Linked DNA regions of Homo sapiens: region 1 is linked to region 2. Evidence: promoter capture Hi-C in 16 types of primary human blood cells and fetal thymus (Javierre and others, 2016). All regions are on one chromosome and are shown on one strand. Each heading gives the region's core, a stretch centred on a gene start or on the middle of the fragment in contact. The rest is flanking DNA. Distances are from core to core; before and after follow the strand shown. Region 1 overlaps HIF1AN (hypoxia inducible factor 1 subunit alpha inhibitor). Region 2 holds the start of SEMA4G (semaphorin 4G).

What was found. Contacts are between HindIII fragments. The CHiCAGO score rates a contact against its expected background, and 5 or more counts as called.
Region 1: a contact is called between a fragment that was not itself captured here and the fragment with the promoter of SEMA4G in region 2, in 1 of 17 cell types (M1 macrophages). The highest score is 5.1, in M1 macrophages.

The regions. Positions count from the first base shown.
Region 1 is chr10:100,544,450-100,548,488 of GRCh38, forward strand. It overlaps HIF1AN (hypoxia inducible factor 1 subunit alpha inhibitor), which reads left to right. Exons shown (of 8, transcript NM_017902.3): 4 at 502-647; 5 at 1,494-1,600; 6 at 2,069-2,132; 7 at 2,691-2,801; 8 at 3,644-4,039. The coding sequence ends at 3,688. Among named protein-coding and RNA genes, the nearest start is that of HIF1AN, 11 kb to the left of the region's middle. The HindIII fragment of the contact is 4,435 bases long and covers 324-4,039 here.
Region 2 is chr10:100,968,002-100,971,770 of GRCh38, forward strand. It overlaps SEMA4G (semaphorin 4G), which reads left to right and starts at 1,503. Exons shown (of 15, transcript NM_017893.4): 1 at 1,503-1,590. RefSeq lists a silencer at 1,460-1,519. The HindIII fragment of the contact is 3,455 bases long and covers 1-3,357 here.

The DNA.
Region 1 (4,039 bases), core at 1,291-3,790, 420 kb before region 2:
TGGGAGGAAAGGTTGAGAATCTTTGAGTTCCACAGAGCTACCCAAAATAAATACAGAGCTACATAATCATACAACTTAGAATGACTGGTTAACTCCTCATGTATATGTTGTTGATACCAGTCATTTCTGTTTTGCTTTCCTTGAATTCCTGCCGTAGTCAAGAAGAGTACACGGTGTACACAGTTGATTACCCTACCTGATTTTTGAGGATCATTTTGATGTGCTCTTGCTTCCAGTAAGGGCAGCAGCCTTCATTTAGGGAAGTTGACTTAGCTGATAGTGGACCCTTAACCAGTGATGTTTGCTAGAGTTATTACCATACAAGCTTAACACCTAATTTTCTGAGAGTTGTAATTGGAATTTCCCTGATTCTGCCTAAATTTTGATTTGGAACTTTTAGCTGGGAGGGCAGGCTGGGTTTCTCTTTAGCACTGGGTCCTGTATTCCAGCTTATGCAATAGAACCACTGCTCTGCATAAGAAAATGCCTTTCTTCTTACAGGAAATGTGACACCTGCTCACTATGATGAGCAGCAGAACTTTTTTGCTCAGATAAAAGGTTACAAACGATGCATCTTATTCCCTCCGGATCAGTTCGAGTGCCTCTACCCATACCCTGTTCATCACCCATGTGACAGACAGAGCCAGGTGAGCTTGTGTGGTCTGAGAAGGGTATAGAACTCTAGATTCTAGTAATGCCTAGGCTGGAATGTCTTTCCCCTTCCCCGTAGTGATATGCCAGGTTCGGATTACAGGCTGTTCTTGCCTTAACACACCAAGAGGGTAATTTCATTGTAGCTCACATATTCCAGGCTCCCTGGAGTGGCCACCAGATGTTTGTAAGTATAACTAGCCCCACAGAGCTAATTCTCAGGACAGACACTGTCATTGATGCTGATGGACTCTGGTTACTCTGTTTGATTGGCTTATAAGTTTATGGAACAAAATGTGTATGTCTCCATTGGATTTAATCATTGTTTGCTTTTGTCATGGATGCTATTTCTTTTTGATAAGAAGGGTGAATAAAACTGAGCTATGTTGTTTAATGTATTTCCTAGATCTAAATGAGGTATGTGGTTAACTGTGGCCAGCCAAAGATATCCTTTCCTTTCTTCAGAAAGCTGTCTAGCTACTTCATGTGGGAGTCTTTGCTGGTTAGAATATGTTTTTGGGAAAAGTTTCTGAAGGTTTAGGTGGAGGATAATTCCTAATTCCTCATATCCTCAGCTGTGGAGTAGGTCGTCTGACCTCAGGAGCACTGAAGCCTAGGATTCTTTATCACTTAACATTCAAATGTGGACTGTCTTATATTGTTCTCTCTCAGGGTTTAATGTGCATTATATCTTCTGCTGGATATAAATTCCAAATACTTTTTTTAAGGCATCGTTTTTTTTTTGTTTGTTTGTTTGTTTTTACTGCCAAACTGGCATATAGTAGTTTTACTGGTGAAGATTTGGTGATTGATATTTTTTTTCTTTCTCTTGAACCTCTTAGGTGGACTTTGACAATCCCGACTACGAGAGGTTCCCTAATTTCCAAAATGTGGTTGGTTACGAAACAGTGGTTGGCCCTGGTGATGTTCTTTACATCCCAATGTACTGGTGAGAAGGGGGCTAGGGCTGGGGGCTTTTTGGGAGCTTTCTTTTCCATTCCCTGGAAAGCCTTGTCTGTGTCGCTTCTGAGTTATGGCATGATTGGTTTTATGTGGTCTATAGGAAGGTTGGCATATCCAGACATGAGCGTACTGAACCTGTGGGGGATAGTGGCGGGAATGATAGCCCTGTCTCTAGGACAGGATGACGGTTCTTCAAGTCCAAAGAGATTCCGGAGGCTTGAGCCTAGAAAAACTGTTCTTGGCTCTTTGGTATTTCGAGACTGAACACCAGTACCTCTAACCCCCAAGTGTGTGTTTTTTTCACAGGATGAGTGTAAAGATATTGTCTTCACTATTTTCCGTAACTGGACTCCACCTAGTTTTTCAGCCCAACCCTGCCACCCCCCCGCACTTCGCCCCTCCGCCCCCGCCAAAAGTATCAGTAGTAAACAGGAGCCTGTTTGTTTTCTTGCAGGTGGCATCACATAGAGTCATTACTAAATGGGGGGATTACCATCACTGTGAACTTCTGGTATAAGGTGAATATGGTTTGCTTTTTTTGTTTTTTCCAGATGGAACTGGCTCTTGGGTGAGGTAGGTATAATAAATGATTTTGGATGGGATGGTTGACTATCCCTGGAAGTGATTGTCAGGTGTCTGGGGAGATGAAAGGGACAGGATTGAATTGGGTTTCTTTTTTTTAAATATATTTTTTGAGACAGAGTCTTGCTCTATTCCCCAGGCTGGAGTGCAGTGGCGTGATCTCGGCTCACTGCAACTTCTGCCTCCCGGGTTCAAGTGATTCTCCTGCCTCAGCCTCCCGAGTAGTTGGGATTATAGGCACACACCACCATGCCTGGCTAATTTTTGTATCTTTAGTAGAGATGGGGTTTCACCATGTTGGCCAGGCTGGTCTCAAACTCCTGACCTCAAGTGATCCACCCGCCTCGGCCTCCCAAAGTGCTGGGATTATAGGCCTGAGTCACCGTGCCCGGCAAGAATTGGGTTTCTTAGAAGGGAGGATGGTACTAAGAACAGTAGAGTGACACTGACGCCTGCTGCTAAAGGCATTTCCTGAGCTACTGCTTCCTTTGTAGGGGGCTCCCACCCCTAAGAGAATTGAATATCCTCTCAAAGCTCATCAGAAAGTGGCCATAATGAGAAACATTGAGAAGATGCTTGGAGAGGCCTTGGGGAACCCACAAGAGGTAGGTGACTGCCCCAAGGTGGCTCAGTGGGTGGGTTGACCAAGGAAAGTCAGGATCAGAGCGACATTCTTTACAGCTTCTGTGTTTCAGTGTCTGGTGTCCTCTCTCTCCATAGAGGTTATGGGTATGTTCAGAAAAATTCTTGTTTTCTGGTGATAGCTGGGCTTGACTGGCAGATCAATTATAATTAGTTCCATGCTAGTAGTAATGTTCCCCATGGGTATTATGTACCATCTGGGGACCCCCTGAGGGGATTCTTCTGGAACAGGAAGCGAGCACTAACACATCTCCTTGCACTTTCCCAGCTGTGCCAGGGCTGCTGTAGGTAATGTTGAGAGACCTGCTTCCCATGCAGGTGTGCCAGTGGCCCATTGGGTAAATGGGGGAGGTTTGTATTTGTAGGGTTCTTGCTTGCCTCTTGGAGGTAACCTCAGCATCCACAGACACCTGTGGTGTTGGGAGATAGCATCAGCCCCAGTTGCAGATGATCATTTTTTGAGGATATGGAGGCAGTTAACATTCTGGAGAAACATATAGACACTCTTGGGTGTTCGGGGATTATTAGCTTCTCTGACCATGTCTGTCCGTTTGGGGCAGATTACGGTAAGAGACGGTGTTGTGCGAGAGAAGAATAATAGTACAAGATGGACCCCTGAGGGAAAGACTATGTCCCAGAATACTGGGTTGACCTTCAGGAAGATAGGTGATTAGAGGATTCACAAGATTGTATGAAAACATTGTCTCTGTCCTTGGCTGGACATCTGATGTCTCCAGACACACCCTGTCCAATTCCAGGGCCAGGGAACAGCCAGTTCTGATTGGCTCCTCATGTTTCTTTACAGGTGGGGCCCTTGTTGAACACAATGATCAAGGGCCGATACAACTAGCCTGCCAGGGGTCAAGGCCTCCTGCCAGGTGACTGCTATCCCGTCCACACCGCTTCATTGATGAGGACAGGAGACTCCAAGCGCTAGTATTGCACGCTGCACTTAATGGACTGGACTCTTGCCATGGCCCAGGAGTCAGGTGTTTGGAGCGAGGCAGGGCAGTTGGCACTCCACTCCTATTTGGAGGGACTTCATACCCTTGCCTCTTGTGCCCCAGCACCTTCTCTCTCTGCCCCCCGCCTAAAGTCCTGCATTCAGTGTGTGGAGTCCCAGCTTTTGGTTGTCATCATGTCTGTGTGTATGTTAGTCTGTCAACTTCGGAATGTGTGCGTGTGTGTGCATGCACACGCA
Region 2 (3,769 bases), core at 253-2,752:
AACACAAGAATGAACTTCAAGGCAAGTTACTTAATGTCTTAGAGCCTGTTTCCCCATCCATAAAATGGGGCTATAAATTCCTCAGGATGGGATGAGGGTACAAATAAAAAATGAAGCAGGATATTCTTTGTAAAAGTGTGTGTACATTTTTTATTGTGTTTCTCCCCAGCTACCTTCCCTCTCCCCGCCACACACATCCTATTTGCAGAGTGTTGGGGGAGGTGGAACTGTGATGTGGGCCCTGCTGTCTAGCAGTCTGCAGTCACACACAGCCATCCAAACTACGAGATTGTATATGATTCAGTGCCAAACTGTGAGCTTTGGGGAATCCAGAAAGAAGGATGAAGCCTTTCCCAAGTTTCCTTTAGTTAAATGTGCCACTTGAATCCTGTTCTGACTCCTAGGCACATGCAAGAGTCAATCACATATGTTCCTGTGGCCTTTATCATTTTGGTCCATCTCTTGAGCCCACATGAATACTGTCATGGATGGAGGAGGAAGGACCAGGCTGGGTCAGGGCCTGAATGCAGGTTTTGTTTGGACTATAGGGGCTAAGTTCACTTTAATAGGCTGTGACCTATTAAAGGAGGCAGGAACCAAGTTTGCACAGAAGGACCATCCTAGTTGAGTTAAAGGAGTTGGGGAGTTGATTGTGAGGGGTTTCCTAGATTGCTGCTGGGTAAGGTGATTGAATCTGGGAAGGATAGGGTACTTGATTGCCTAGAAGGGTGCACTCTAAGTTCTGGATAAGAATGGTGCCCAAGATGAGCTGGAGGGGAAGGCAAGTGTTTGAATGACCCAGTCCCTGAGGTGAGCCTAGGTTAGGGTTAAGATTTGGTGAGTGAACAGGTGCAAACGCTTGTGGCTTATTTATCCAGAAAAAGCATTTTCTGTGTGCCTTTCAGGTCAGGCTGTTACTTTATCCCCTTCAGGCCTGACCCCATCTCCCCCACGCATAGCTCAAGCTGAACAGCCCCTGAAGCTGGGAATCAAGCCCCTACCTTGTGTTCAGAGCTTCCCTAACGTCCAGTCGCCACCTAGGGTAGCCTTCCCTCCACACCCTAGGCCGAGAGCAGAAGCGGGTGGCAGGAGCACAGGGAGTGAGGTCCAGGTTAGAGGACAGGCCAGAAGGCCCTCCGAGAGGGTCCCCCAACCCCGCAACGCCAGGACAGGTTTGCACGTCCCCAGCAGTAGGCAAGTCAGGGGGGTCCTAGGGTTACAGCGGAGGAGAGGACGGGCTATAAGCATGTGGAGGGTGCACGGGGTGGCGAGGCCACCACCAGGGGGCGATTTCAGGGCCGCAGCGCCTAGAGGTGGGGGGTCGCCCGATGGCCGAAGGCTGTGTGTGAGCCTCGCCCTCAAACCGCCTCTATTGTGCTAGAGTAGGGGGCGCAAAGAAGAGAGTGGCGACCTTCCCCTCACCCCACCCAGTCGGCCCCGCCTTTCAGGACCCCGCCCCACCCCCGGCTCCGCCTCCACCACCCCCCCCCCGCCCCGCCTCCAGCCGCGGCCCCTTCCTCTCGCAGCTGGTGCTGTGGGGCCGCGGAGCCGCGCGTCGCTGTCTCTATGGCCCCGGATCCGAGCGCAAAGGTGAGCAAGGCGAGGAGTGCGGGCGGCGCCCTGGCGTGAGCCTGGGGCTGCGGGCCGGGGGTCGGGCAAGGCCTCCCCCACGTCCATTCTACCCTCCAAGCTGGGCCAGGCCTTTCTCACCACCAAGTCCCCCGGTCCTGCATGACGGCTCTAGAGGGGCGCGGGCCAGGCCTCGGGCTGCGCGGGGTGCAAACCGGCCACCACGGAGTCGGGGACCAGCGCGGGGAGGGGGCCGCGTGGCGAACAGTGTTCCCCAGGATCTGGGTCACGTCTCCCGGCGTCCGGCGGGATCGAAGGAGAGCTTGTCCTCGAGCTGCAGCAGTAGAGACTGAGGTTAGACCTGACGAAGGGAGAGGACCGCGGACTGTCCAGGATGTTGGAGGGAGGGGGTCCCGGGGGAGGGGCTCTCTCAAGCCAGGAGAGACCGCCATCCTACTAGGCAGAGGGAAATACCGCCTACACTAGGCAGGTGGACATCTGGGATGAAGGTCGAGAGCCTGCTGATCCTCCATTGATCCTGTTTGAAGGGTCTCTCCTCCCCAGTTCCCTCCACCCCAAGATCTAATAGAGGAAAGGTGATCAGAGTTCAGGGGGCTGGCCCTGGGGAAGAACCCGAACTGTGGAACTTGGGGTGGAGTGTGGGGCGTGGACTGGAGACCTTAAACCCGTACTTCGCCACTGAAGGGAGGGGTGATATGCTCCGCCCCGCCCACTTAGCCCCGCCCCCTCCCACAGGTTAAGTGGGGGCTGAGAGCTCCAGCCCGTCTCCCACCTTTAGAACCGCAATATACATAGGGGTGGAGGAGTACTAAATTATGCGTTCCATTCCATCTTTGCTGAAGCTAGGGGCCTCCTCCTGCCTGAGTTACTTTCCCATTCCCTCCCTTGTAGAGCGGCCTTGACTCATGCACCCATCCCATCTGCCCATCCAAGGTCAGAAGCCTCCCCCATCACCACACACACACACACACACAACCCCCTCACCACCCCCACACACAAACACACACTTGAAATTGGGCCTTAGAATTGGGACTTTCAGGAACAGAGGCAGGGTTCTGCTCTGCATCTCACCCCAGTGGACACTGGCAGCCTCCAAGCCTATGGCAAAAACTGGACCCCTGTATGCATGTGTGCTTGTCTCTGCATGGATGTAGTTGTGTGTTCAAGAACTGCGTGTGAGCACACATGTACTTGACCCTTCTGTGAACATGATTGCCTGGCCCACTATATCAATGGGTTTGTGTGCATGTCCCTACACATACATGTGTATGTATAGGACCCTCCTGTTGAATAGGTGCACAGTCCTTGACACAAACCCACATGTGTGGGTTTATCTCTCCTCAATGTCTGAGGCTGTGTGACCTGCTGAATGGATGGGCATGTAAATTCAACGTCACATGTGAATATGTATGATTACCTGTGGCTGTGGCCCTCTGTATGAGCATATGTGTGCACAAAACTCCCTGTGAGTATATGTGTGAATGACCCCTGTGAATCCACGTGTTCACAGTCCTCCTTGTGAACATGTGTGTGTGTGTGTGTGTGCACCCATGTGCATGTATATCACCTTCCTAATAGTCACCCATGTGACTCTTAAACTATAAGTGTGACATGCACCACACTGAGTGGCTCCTCTAACCTGGGGCATGTTCCTCCTAGCCATAGTGCTCCCCACACACATGCCTTTTGCACTGAGCAAATAGGAGGTCCCAAAGGTAAACAGGTGTGCCTCCACAGGGAGGGGTGGGGCATGGCCGGCTTGCCTGAAGCTTCCTGCTGTCCCAGATCCCAAACAGGGAGCCTATGCCCTTTCAGGGTCAGGGAATCCTCTTCTCTCCCTTTCATATTTGACTCTACCCCTCAGGGCTCTGCCCCTGCAGTGCTGACCTTTACCTCTTGAATAATTGCTCCTGTTATCCCTCTGGCCAGTTCCTGATTCCTCCCCTCTTTCCAAGGCCAGATAGTTAATATTTGACCTGGGAGAGGAGGCACCAGTGGCACCCTCTGGCCCTGCCTGTGGGTGGCTGATGAGATGGAATGTATTAGGTCTCTCCACACCTCACCCAGCCCAGGAACTCTTCAAGGAACCCCTTGGTGATTAGGAGGCCTGTTACAGGGGTTGGGAGAGGCCTGCCACCCACCCCCATCCCATCCCCAACTGGTTGGCTTGAGGGAGGGT